Linked DNA regions of Homo sapiens: region 1 is linked to region 2. The links are contacts of gene promoters, found by promoter capture Hi-C in blood cells and fetal thymus (Javierre and others, 2016). All regions are on one chromosome and are shown on one strand. The core of a region is centred on a gene start or on the middle of the fragment in contact, and the rest is flanking DNA. Distances in the headings are between cores, read along the strand shown.

What was found. The method cuts DNA at HindIII sites, captures the fragments that hold promoters and counts their contacts. A CHiCAGO score of 5 or more calls a contact.
Region 1: a contact is called between a fragment that was not itself captured here and the fragment with the promoter of STK17B in region 2, in 1 of 17 cell types (total B cells). The highest score is 5.3, in total B cells.

Annotation. Positions count from the first base shown.
Region 1 is chr2:191,619,027-191,625,336 of GRCh38, forward strand. The region is part of intron 1 of LOC124905959 (a long non-coding RNA gene); the gene reads left to right. Among named protein-coding and RNA genes, the nearest start is that of NABP1, 56 kb to the right of the region's middle. The HindIII fragment of the contact is 817 bases long and covers 1,806-2,622 here.
Region 2 is chr2:196,168,567-196,175,512 of GRCh38, forward strand. It overlaps STK17B (serine/threonine kinase 17b), which reads right to left and starts at 3,012. Exons shown (of 8, transcript NM_004226.4): 1 at 2,767-3,012. LOC101927454 (a long non-coding RNA gene) reads left to right here and starts at 2,973. Exons shown (of 2, transcript XR_923737.2): 1 at 2,973-3,065; 2 at 3,339-4,282. RefSeq lists silencers at 2,338-2,557, 3,078-3,307. The HindIII fragment of the contact is 11,036 bases long and covers 2,995-6,946 here.

The DNA.
Region 1 (6,310 bases), core at 964-3,463, 4.6 Mb before region 2:
AGGACTCCAAGAATGAAGCCAGGTGCACATCATTAATCTTGATACTTATACAAAGCAACCTGAAAAGCTAGTATAGCACAGTCCATTGCTTCAGGTGTACACAACAAAATCATCAGTCCCTGACATCCAAGAGCCATATTCTTAGTGATTGGCAAAGGATCAATCATGGTTCTAGGTTCTGTTGGAGCCATGCAAGGAATATATGACCACACCTGCTCTGCTAACTCTTTCCTCACAAAATGTGGCCAACAGTCAGCACTAAATGCAAAATATATAGATAAATGAGACTTTAGATAATTCCAGCCCCCAGACTTCAAGTCTTCCAGCTTAGCCCCCAAGCACTTTAAAGAAGAAACAAGGATTCCCCACTGTGTTCTGCCAGGATTCTTGACTCACAGAAACTACATGAAATAAGAAATGTTTATTGTTTGAAGTCACAAACTCTTGGGGTAGTTTGTTATACAGCAATAGATTAATATACAGGGTAATATTTTCCTATTCTTTGCATGTGTGGCAATTTTTTATTGAATGACCAATATGAATTTTATATTTTAGGAAACTGGAGTTTGTTGTATTTCATTGAACAGTACTAGGCTTTTGTTTCATTGCTAGCTAAGTTACAAGTAGAATCCTCTTGAGGATTGCTCTCAAGTTTGTTAGGGTGGGTCCAGGACAGTCTTTATCTTAGGGCTAACTTATATCTACTACTAACCTGATAACAAGCCAGGTGCAGTGGCTCACCCTGTAATCCCAGCACTTTGGGAGGCCAATGTGGGCAGATCACTTGGGGTCAGGAGTTTGAGACCAGCCTGGCCAACATGGTGAAACTCTGTCTCTACCAAAAATACAAAAATTAGCCAGATATGGTGGTGTGTGCCTGTAATCCCAGCTACTCGGGAGGCTGAGGCATGAGAATCACTTGAACCTAGGAGGTGGAGGTTTCAGTGAGCTGAGATCGTGACACTGCGCTCCAGCCTGGGTGACAGAGTGAGACTGTTTCTCGAAATAATAATAATAATAATAATAATAAAACTGATAGCTGTCTACAGACTATTTGGAGGATTGGTAAACTTTTTTGGTAGTGGACACATAGTAAATATTTTAGGCTTTGCAGGCCACACACTGTCTGTTGCATATATTTCTTTGTTTTTTCAATCCTTCAAGAATATACACATCATTCTTAGCTTGTGAGCTGTTGAAAAAGTCTGTGGGCTGGGTGTGGCCTGTGAGCTGTAGTTTGCCAACACCTGATGTCCTTTGCATTAAGAGGTCTTTCTATTCTGGCTGAAAGGACAATTAACTAGTCCAAGCCTTGTGTAAGTTCCAAACATTTTTCTGCCTACTCATTCTCATGGTTCTTTCCCCAGCCTTGGGTGGTTTCCTCTCATGCTTGTCCAGATTAGCACTCAGTCAAATACCTGAAGGGACCTCTCTGTAGATTTCCCAGGCCCTGAAGCTCCCTCCTTGATGGTACTCAGGGTTACAAATCCTAAACACCTTAAGCGCTCTGAACTCTGATCTTTCTGTACTCAGTGAGACTGCAGATTCCTTCTGGGTTCCCCCTTCCAGTGCTGTTATTTTCTTACATATAGTTACTCCTCTGTGTTGGTTCCTATCTATACCGAACATAAATTTCTAACAGAAACTGTTTTGTTCTACTTAATGTCTTCCTTGTTAAACACAGTACCATATTAACACATATGCAGATCATCATCGTGCCATTAACAAAAGCTATATCTCAATGGCCACAAGATTTCTAGTTGAAACAAATCTTAAATGATCTATCTGATCTTAGTCCAATTGTAAGCTTTCCTAGTTGTAAACATGTACCTTTGAGGGTCATACTCTACTTTTAAGGTAGCCCATTTCACTGTTGGACAGCAATAATTATCAGAAAATGTACTTCATAATGAGCTAAAATATAATTCCTTATCACATGGACTTTTCAGTTCTTATTAAATTTATGTTTAACCTAAATCTAGAGGACCTTTTCTTACCAATTGCTGTTAACCCTTGTTGTGCATTATTGATTCAGTCTGTGAATGTCTTGAGTGTCTTCTCTGTGCCAGGCTCTGTGCTGAGTTTGGGCTTGTGGAGGTGAGAAAAGGGAGGTAATGAATGGGCCTCATGCATCTTTCAGCTTGGTGGGTTATTTAGAGAGAAATCTAAGCATGCAAATATGTGTAAAAGTTACAATGTGGTATGTGCCCTGAAGAAGCATAGTGTGATGACACTAGGTATAGGAAGATTTGTCCTAGTCAGGGAAGTTAGGGAAGACATTCTTGAGGAGCTAATGATTTGAGATCTGAAAGCAAAGTAGGAGATAATCAGACAAAATAAAGATGAGAGATTTTTAGGAAGAGGGGTCAGCCTGAATGAAGGTACTGGGGTGAAAGAGAGCAACTGTTTTTTAAATCTAAATGTAGGACTTTCAGATAACCCTGTTAAATACTCACTCAATGAATACACTCAATCTCAGAAATATCACTCTATCACCGAAAACATGTTTCTGATATTTTTGGTGTACTTGTAGAAGCAGATTTAATTCCAATGTAAGAAAGCATTTTGCATTGCTCTTTGGAAAGGTATTATTGTCCCTACCTCAGGTTTTGTGGGGCCAGAAGCTTATACAGGGCCCCCACTCTGGGGGCCCTTTTAAAGAAAAAAATGTAAATGATACATACAAAATTTAGCACAGGGCCTGGAAGAAGGCCTTGGCAGTGAGAGGCACCAAATGAAACGTTTCATTAGGTTCAGGGTAAAAAATCTACCTACTGTCTTTAGAGATTTGGACAAAGGGTACATGACCATATGTTGGTGACGTAATGAAGAGATTTCATATTGTATAGAAATTTGGACTTGATAGACCTGTAAGTTTCCTCCAGATTCAAAGATTTTGTGTTTACTTAGCTTACATTTGAGAATGGAATAGGTCAAAGTTAGCCTCCTTGCATTCTTGGCCCCCTGCCCCTACTCAGCTAGTTTGTAGAATTAATTATCTGATGGCCAAACAATGATGGGGTGTTGGCTGGATGCGGTGGCTCACATCTGTAATCCCAGCACTTTGGGAGGCCGAGGCAGGTGAATCACTTGAGGTCAGGATTTCAAGACCAGCCTGACCAACATGGAGAAATCCCGTCTCTACTAAAAATACAAAATTAGCTGGGCATGGTGGTGCATTCCTGTAATACCAGCTACTTGGGAGGCTGAGGCAGGAGAATCGTTTGAATCCAGGAGGTGGAGGTTGCAGTGAGCCGAGATCATGCCATTGCACTCCAGCCTGGGCAACAAGAGCAAAATTCCATCTCAAAAAAAAAAGAAAAAGAAAAAAGATGTGGTGTTTGGGACTGTGTGGGTGTTGGGGATAGTAGGGCATATACTTTAGACTATGAAGTAAATGAATCCTAATGTTAAATGCCTGGCTTCCACCTCTAGTCAATTGTTTTGTTCTAGCACTCACATCTCAAGTCATAGAATGAGAGCTAAAATGTCTTATGAATCAAAGGCTGGGTTTGAGTCACATGCCAACCAATGTGTGCTCATGGAGAACACCTCAGTGACAGCCCAGAGACAGCACCTCCAGCCCACCCTTGACTATTCACCTCACACCCGACTCCTCTGTCCAGAGGAGGTTTGAGGAGAGGGGATGGATGTTGTAGTGCTATCCATCATCCCTGCTGTGTACATGCATTATGGTGCTTACATTGCACCACTGTGAGAAGGAAAAGAGTGCGTATTGTGAATGAGGACTTCCTACCCCACAACAAAAATAGAATCTTTGCAGCCAATTATGTGCTGAAGCATTATTATAAAACAGGAAGAATCCTAACAACAACAAAAGATTAAGAGCAGCACTATGTATGTATGAGTACTTCTGCATTCCCAGAGCAGTTGTCTGGACTGATTATAAAGCTCTTAGCAAACTTTAATTAGCGCTCACAGGTTGGTGAGTTACATGGCTAAAGTTCTTGCTAGTGTGGTCACCAGAGAAGTAAACTCAGGTGAGGTTAAATGGTCAATTCATGGACACCTGGCCATGCTCATCTGTGTTTGCTTTTCCAGTTTGTCAGGTTCTTTGGAATCTGACTTGTTAGCAGCTCTGCCAGGCCCCATCCCCTTGCTTGCAGGTGCTCACGTCTGAAGATAATGTGTTAATCATATCAGCTCATGAGCCTGGGGTTCAGCCACACCAAGTCTGGACCTGCTGGCTTTCTTTGGAGTCAATCTGCAAAGGACATCTCCGAGTCCAGGGATAACAGTCCTGGAGTCAGTAGATTGTGTCTGAGCTCACCTGCCAGGCATGATGTGGAAACAAGGACACTGCTTTTCAGTAGGCAATAATTGACTTCAAAGGGCTCCAAGTTGGTTTAAGATTTTTCTGCTTTAACATTTAGGAACAGTGGAAAAACATACTTTTGTTATTTGTGTATTCTTAGAAATGGCTAACACTTCTAAGAAGATGGGAAAATTTTAAGGCTATTAAGGAGACAAAAAATGAAATCCCCTTGAAGATACGTAAAGACCTAGCGCTTCTCTGTCCTGTGTGTCTCCCACCCCACCCAGGCTTATAGGGTATCTTTGGTTTGCGCCCCATGAAGACACATGTGAGTTCTATCTCAGGCAGGGGCTCTGGGATCAATGGTGGGCGAGTGAGTTTGTTTACCCTGGATTCAGCCTCTGCTCCTTAGGAATTTCTCAAACATTAAGTTTCCTTTAATATTATCCATTCATCAATATGCTGATACAAATCTACTTCAAATCTATATACATTTTTTTTTTTGGTCCAGCCAATAATTGAGAGAAGACTAGAATATTGACTATTACCTATTAGGCAAGGGTTGATTGTCTTTCATGTATCCTAAAGCAAGGCTTCAAACTTCACAAGTTTTCATCAGGCCTGGCACTCTGAGGTTTGGAGGAAACAGCACCTGTCTACCCAGACTTTATCTCATAATTTCCAAAACTGCAGTTCTGTTCCTTCTCTTTCTCCTGGTCCCTTCTGTCCTCATTTCTAAGTCCCTTCTTTCCCTTCAAATTTTCATTCTCTCTCTAGGCCTTTTCTTTTTATCTGATGTCTTTTTAAAATTATTCATATCGGGTTTTTACATAGTCATTCATCTTTCACTGTGGTTTTTGTTCAAGGATACTCTGATGATTTACTTTTATGCTTTATAAAAAATGTTTTGTGTATAAAAACTCACAATTTATGACTTTTTTTTGGTCTCAGCAGCTAATTGAACTGATAGATTTAGGAAAGAATTAACAACAATTCCTGGTGTTTTTCTTAACTTTTAACTAATAGCTCAGAATCCACCTTCCCATAGGAGAAACTTTTTTTTTTTTTGCTTAAATTCCTCATTATTCTTGTGTACATCAAAGCTCATTTCTCTGTCTCCTTGCAGGGTCCAGTCATCTCTTCCTTTCTCATCAGTGAGTTGGTGGCTCCACACCTAGAAAACCTTAAAGTTTGCAATAATACCAACAGGTTAAATAAAAGAGTTGTCCTGAGACATGGGCTTGGTGAGGGGAGCCTATGGGATAACTCTTACTTTTCTCTACTCCAGGCATAATCTCAGGACACTGCACCACAGGTGAAAGCTGCCTGGTTAGTGGATTAGTCAGCTCAGGCTGCCATAACAAAGCACCACAGACTGAGTGTCTTAAGCAACGAAAAATTATTTTCTCACAATCCTGGGAGATAGAAGTCCAAGATCAAAGTGTTAGCAGGGTCGGTTTCTTCTGTGGTCTTTCTCCTTGGCTTGTAGACCGCCATCTTCTTTCTGTGTCTTCACAGGGTCTTCCCTCTGTGCCAGTCTGTGTCCTAATCTCTTTTCATAAGGACACCAGTCCTATCAGATTAGGACCTACACTAATGACTCATTTTAACTTAACTACCTCTTTAAAGACCCTATCTCCAAATACAATCATATTCTGAGATACTGGGGATAGGGGGTTCAACATGTGAATTTTGAGGGGGACACAATTCAGCCCATAACAGTATATTAAAAACTCCTCATCTAGACACCATATTTCCAGCAACAACCAAGCTCCCAAGCACAGCTCTAGCCTACAAAGTCTGTGGAGAAGGTGGGTTATACAGTCCCATCAGGGTCAGAGGTTGCAGCTCCCTCTCTTATGTTACAGATTCTTCATAACAAATGTAAACAAGCTGCTTATCTGATTCTCCAAATAGCAGCAAACCAGTGTACAGAGTAATCACCAACCAGAAAAAGCTCAGCTGCAGGGGGCAGGCAGATGTGCCAACAGCAGCAGGAAGTGACTTCAGCATCGAACGGGCAGCAGACAAAAC
Region 2 (6,946 bases), core at 1,762-4,261:
AGTATCACTACACCCTCTTTTGGAGTAATTGCAAAGGGTCAGGGATGAACCAAAATACAATGCATATAAATATTAAAAGAAACTAATATATATGTTTTAAATGGCACTGAAGTTTGAGGTTAAATGTTCTGGAAAAAGGATAATAAAAAACTTAATAAAGTATGCCCTGAAAATTGCAACATTACAACATATTTAAATAAAAATACATGCTTGTAACTTTATAAGAACATTTCTTAACTGAAATATTCAAAGAAATAGCCTTTGATAACAGCCCAGCATAGAATACAAACTACAGTACTTAAACATAAAATCACTGAATTTTGTCATCAATATTATGAAAAACTAAAGCAACTGACATTTGAAGTTTTCCTAAGTGGAAAGGTAGTAGATAAATGACTGCTAATGTTTCTGACAAAACAAATACCCATACAGTGCAGAAGATTTCTTTATGAAAAGAAGAATCAATCAGTATCCTTTAAAAGTAGTAAGCCTAGGAATACTATTTTTTTTTTTTTTTTTTTTTTTTTTGAGACGGAGTCTCCCTCTGTTGCCCAGGCTGGAGTGCAGTGGCGTGATCTCGGCTCACTGCAACCTCGGCCTTCCGGGTCAAGCAACTCTTCTGCCTCAGCCTCCCGAGTAGCTGGGACTACAGGCGCGCGCCACAATGCCCGGCTAATTTTTGTATTTTTAGTAGACACGGGGTTTCACCATATTGGTCTCGAACGCCTGACCTTATGATCCGCCCGCCTCGGCCTCCCAAAGTGCTGGGATTACAGGCTTGAGCCACTGCGCCCGGCCAGAATACTATTCTTAACTGCCAATCTTACATACAGAAAATGTGAATTACAATATACTATGCATGCAATTTTAAGGCAATTTAACGATTAAGTGAAAGTGTTATTAACTGAATTCCTTGACTTCTTGTGTCTCTAAAATTAAAGCAAAAATATTTTCATAAGGAAATTCTCCCTTATAATTATCAAAGAGCTTTAAAACATGTTAAAATGTTCACTTAACAAAAGTAAAACAGAGCAAGCTTAAAAATAAAATTATCTGATTAGAAACGTCAGCCATAAAAATGCTTGTATCTTCTTCAAATTTGTTACTCATATGCTAACACAGCGATTAGTCAAACCTCCAACTTCCTAAAAACGCATTCTATCTTAACCAAATCGTAATTCACTAATCAATGATCCCAAGAGAAACCGCAACCATTCTATTCACACACAAAAAAGGATGGTCTTCAATTACAGAAATTCTACTTTTAAAAAGTCTTGCCATGTAAGCAAATATATTTCACCTCAATTTTGGATCCCTACTTTAGAAAAAAAAAAAGATCTAAAATGTACAATATGTATCTCAAAAATAAAACATCTATTAATACCTCCAATTATTAAGATACTAGAAAAAGTTTAATTGAGCATCTGCTCAGAGGAGGAGGATCCGAGGCAGATGAGTTTAAAACTTTTGCACCGCTTCTATGGACCAGTTTTCTTAAAAAATACACAATCCTAGGGGTACACGGTCTAATATTTATAAAATAAGCACTTGTTGAAAATTACTTCCGAACAGTTCACCATAAAACTAAAAAACAGTGTTATCAATGAGAAAGTAGGTTTATTTTCCTTTAATAAAATTGTGCTCCTGGGTTCAAAATGCCAGGTTACATACGCTGCCACTCATTTCTACAGAGCTATGCTGTCTCCGCGCAGACATTCTCATAGACTTGAAAACGTAAAGTGGCCACACCACGTCAAACGTCCCTGGCAAGGTTCTGCTTATCATTAGCACCACAGATGTAAACATTACGTCGACAAAACAATCGGTGAATGTGATACACAGTCCTCATGTGTTTAAATATTAGTGAAATCTGATAAGTATTACGATTTTAAAAACGTATTTTCTTAATTCCAATTTCCAAATTGATGTCAGAGTGCCTCTAGTCCAGACAGAAACTAATGCCAGCTACCAGCTGCTATAAAGCCTCTTTCAACTTTGTCTCTACTTCTCCCTCGGAGGAAATTCAAATGAAACGCTTTTCCCTACAATAAAACAAAGAGCCTGGGTAAATGTCAAAAATCGTTGGCATCCAGTAGTGGTATAGTTTGAGGATGAGTCGTGCACACTAAGTGGGTCACAAGGCATCAAAGCAAAAATCAGATCGCTGAAAATCACGGAAACAGCTGTAGCCCGTCTTGATCTCTCGCTGGTTTTAAAACACTGTTCCCAAGCAGTAACTGAAAACGTCCCACAAGATGAACACGAACTTTCTCTAGACGAAAGGCAGCTGGGAGCAGGACGCGTCCACGAGTCCCGATGGGAACGCGCCCACGCCGCAGCTGGGACTCGGGAGAGGCTAGGGGGACCGCGTGGCCTTGCTGTGGAAGGGACCCGCGCGGGCCCGCCGCGAAGGGGGCCCTGCCTGGCGCGACCTGGGGAGAGCCGGGGCCGGCCGGGTGGAGGGCGCACGGGGACACACGGACACGCACAGACACAGACACGCGCCCCGGGCTGAGGAGGGTGGTGGGAGGACCGCCGGCCGCCCCCCGCGCGGAGCCCCAGGGAACCCGGACTCCAGCCGCAAAGCGGAGAGGCGCCAGCAGCAATCAGCCACCTCAGGGGCGGCGGAGTCCAAGCCCCTCTCAGCCGGACCGTACCGCCTAAACCCTCCTCGGGTCCTCCTTCCTCACGTATGAGGTCTCTGTACCGAGGCGGCTGGTTCCATCGCAGCCCCGAGCCAACCCGCCAATCCCGCAGGACACTAACCGCTCCGGCCGCCGCAGGTTCTCCCGGGACTGCCCCCTCCAGGGGGCCGCTGTCCCGCCCCACGCCGGGGGCCGCCACAGGACGAGTTCTCTAGCTCCAGCCGGGCGAGGCGCCAGGGAGCTCCGAACGTGGCAGGATCCACTTTTACTTTTCCAGACAAGGGCCGACGGTTGTGACCTGGCTTCTCGTGAAGTGACTCCTGGCGACAGCAGCGGAGAGGACTACCGAAGCTTGCAGTCGCGGTTTGAAAACTGCAGCCGCGTCTGGGGCATCGCCGTTCGCCAGATCCCTCCCCCTAGGTCGGGAGAGCCAATCGGAACGGGTGCGGAGGGTGGGTCTGTCACGTGACGGGAGGGGCGGGGCACCGGCCGGGGGCGCGTGTGCGGGGCGGGGCCCGGCGGTGAGAGGGTGCGGCGCCTGGCTGGCCCGAGGCGGGGCGGGGAGGCGCGGCGGCGTGGCGGCGCAGGTGGGGCGCACTCGGGCTGCCGCGAGGGAGGGGCGGAGGGGGCGGCGCTGCAGAGGGGGCGCGCGGGGCTGGAACTACTGCTCTGTGTACTCCTTCCCACCTTCAGAGAGGTCAGTTCGAGAGGTGTGAATATCCGGAGACCGGGGAGAAGGAAGCCGCAAAATTCGTCCCAGCTGCCTGCGACTAGTTACCAAACTTCAGTGCCTACCAAAGACCTATTTTCTGACTCTTCTTGAGAGTCTTCCTTAGGACCGGAACGTACCCTGTAAGTGGAGAACCCAGTTTGCTACAACTTGGCAGAGGTTCCTCGGAGTGTCAACATCAGTTGGGGATTTATGGAACCTAGACCCCACTGCTAACGTCCGCTGTCGCGAATGGTGTCCCTTCTGAGGCACTGACTGAAGGCAGTGTAGGGAGGGTCCCAATAGGCTGAATAGCCGATTTTGCATTTATAGTGCTAAGGAAAAAGATGAAAGCCCTCAGCAACCTACTCAAGATCTGTTATCCTTTGAAGACAGTGGAAATTTTCAAAGTTCTGTGCAAGACACAAATGTTTTACATAGATATATAATCCTAGTTTATATGTATAGGATACACACATACTCATACATATATGGGATTAGTTATGTAATCTAGGATTGCTTTCAGAGGACATTTACGATAATTGCAGAAAACCCTTCCGTGGGAAAGGATACTGGGAGTGGAGTCGTCCTCTTGCTTTCAAAAGACTTAATGTTCAGTTAGCATATAAAGGACAGGTTTTCTTGTTCTATCCCAGTAAGCCAAGCAAATTCCTGTGAAGCTAGCTGTTTCCCTTTCCTACTGCATTTTCCCCAAGATAAAGGTATAGAATGCATCACAGCCCTTTTATGAAGTCTGTTTGTTGTTACTTAGGTTAACTCCTCCTCCCAGGTTAATAATGTCTTGCCCCTAAACCTTGTCAAATGGAGAATATTGCTTCCATCTATCTAATTTCTTGTTGCTAACAATTGGGCTGACTAGAGAAGCCTAAAGTTAGGATGAAAATAAAATGCCACACACTGGAATTAACTTTTCTGGGGTATAAGAATCCGTAAGCAATGAGACTGTTCCCATCTTTTCTTTCATGAGCATAGGTGTTGCATTCCAGAGGTCTCAGCACCAGTACCAAAACTAGTAACCTCTTGGGGGTCACAGGATTACATCATTATGGTGGTTTTGGGGTTGTGTGTTTAACTTTGGACCTCCTTAATTTCAACATTTCATCAATTGCCAGCTTTTAGCAATCTTCTCACACTCACCCCATACTCCCCGTCACTAATCCAGTCCCAGATCACTTCACACCTAGACACAGACTTTTCTCTCTCTGGCACCACTGTAAGCCAGTCCTCTTGGTCACAATACCTCTGCTGTAACCAGCCAGCCTCCTAGGGATATTGTCATGTCTTGCATTTTCCTGCTTCTGCCTTAGCTCCAGCTTATCACCATCCTCCTCATCCATACCTGTTCATCAGTTTCTGACTTTAAGAAGGTTACCCTCTTCAGGAATCAGAACTCTGCTGATTCCTACTTTCTGTTCCCAGCCTGATCACCTCTGCCTTATGTTCTTTGGTGCAGGGCTGATAGTTTGTGTTTCTTTTATGACCCTAAATAGATTGTTAACCCTTGTGCCTGATGTCAGATTTGTTAACTAGGACTTACCACACTATCCCAAGGACATTCAACTACACTTACTTGGTCTCAGGCACTGTGGTTCAAGTAACAAGGAATTCCTGGTGCTGAGGAGGAGGCAGTACATCTGTGGCCTTGCAGGAAAATTCAGAAGTCAATACATTCCTCCATCCACCTCATTTACCTAAACTCATTCATCACCGTGTCAAAGATATATGTTCCTGCTCTCATTCCCTTGAGTAGGAAATCTCCAGGTGACCTGATGGTCATTCTGTGGTCATTGCTTCTGACCACACAGTTCATTAAGTTGACCATCCTTGAATGACACATTCCGACCAGGGATGGCGGTTGTTATGGGCTCAGTTGTGTTCTTTTCCAGTTCATACGTTGAAATTCTAACCCTCAGGAACTCAGAGTATGACCGTATGTGGAGATAGGGCCTTTAAAGAGGTAATTAAGGTAAAATGAGATAATATGAGTGGCCCCTGATCCAAGATGACTGGTGTCCTGATAAGAAGAAATTAGGACACATACAACACTGACTAAGGGACCACCCTGTGAGGACATAACAAGAAGGTGGCCATTTGCAAAGCAAGCAGAGAGGTTTCAGAAGAAACAAGACCTGCTGATATCTTGATCAACAGCCTCTAGCCTCCAGAACTGTCTGTTGTTTAAGCTGTCCGCTCTGTGGTATTTGTTATGGCAGTCCAAGCAAACAAATACAGTGGTCCTCCTGGATCACTCCAGGTTAGTAATCACACACTGACTGGGAGCGATGATCGTTCCCAGTCACTGCTTACCACATGTGGCCAGGGAAGGTGATCCTCTCCGGTAATGGCACGACACTCACCATATTCTGTCCAGGGAAGGGACCTTCCCCAGTCACATCAAGTCAGTCACCGCATACTGACCACATAATGATCAAGGAAAGTGATTCTCACCGATTCCATGTTTACTCCCTGTAGATGCAGAAAAGGAGGGTTTTGCACAGAGCAGAAGGCCTCAAACTCAAAACTCTTGCCACTGACACACCCTCCTTCTGAAGAATTCATGTGGAAAAGGCAAAACAAGCTCTACTACCTGTCTAGAACTGAATATACCAGAAACCTGTGGCTAGGCTAAAGGTAGCCAGACGCAGGCAAGGCCAACAGCCTCTGAAGGGGCGTGGCTCAACCCCCCACCCAACAGGGGTGCTCACTGAATGGAGACAGGCTCCTCCAAACAGATCCCCTCTCTGGAGGTAGGAATAGTGAGTGTACTCAGATGGAGATGTCGCAGTGCATTTACTCATGGTGCCTACAGCACATTGCAATTTTGAAAGCACTGAGAACCAGAGAGACTCTAAGAGACCTCACATCCCCTGACTCTCTTGAAACACTATTAGCAAAGCTAATTGGGGCTAGTTTTGTCTGATGAGAGTAATAACTCAGACTGGTACAAGTGTCTTCCTTAAAGGGTGACACAGCTTTCCTCTCCAAAACATCCATGATCAACTAGGGCCAATATGCCAATCCAACCACTCACTGCAGTTTATAGAGTATAACCTGTCCTGTAAAAGCTGTCCAAAAGAAATGCCACGCACATTGGCAAATGTTCTACTAGTCATATTTTAAAAAGTAAACACAGATAAAATTAATTTTAACAATTTATTTTATTTAACCCAATATTTCTAAAACATTGTCATTTCAACATGTAATCAACAAAAATTATTGAGACATTTTACTTCCTTTTTTAATATTGTCTTAAATCTAGTATTTTATACTTACAGCATGTCCCAATTCAGATGCCAAATTTTCATCGGAAACACTTGATCTGTATTTAGATTTCACAAAATTTACTGTTGCAAAAAGCAGATTCACATTCCTAAGTTGTTTTGAACAAACTAAAGTTTTTCACGCCAGGTGTGGTGGCTCATATCTGTAATCCTAGCACTTTGGGAGGCCAAGGCGGGCAGATGATTTGAGATCAGGAGTTCAAGACCAGCCTGGCCAACATGGTGAAACCCCGTCTCTACTAAAAATACAAAAATTAGCCAGGCATGGTGGCAGGTTCCTGTGATCCCAG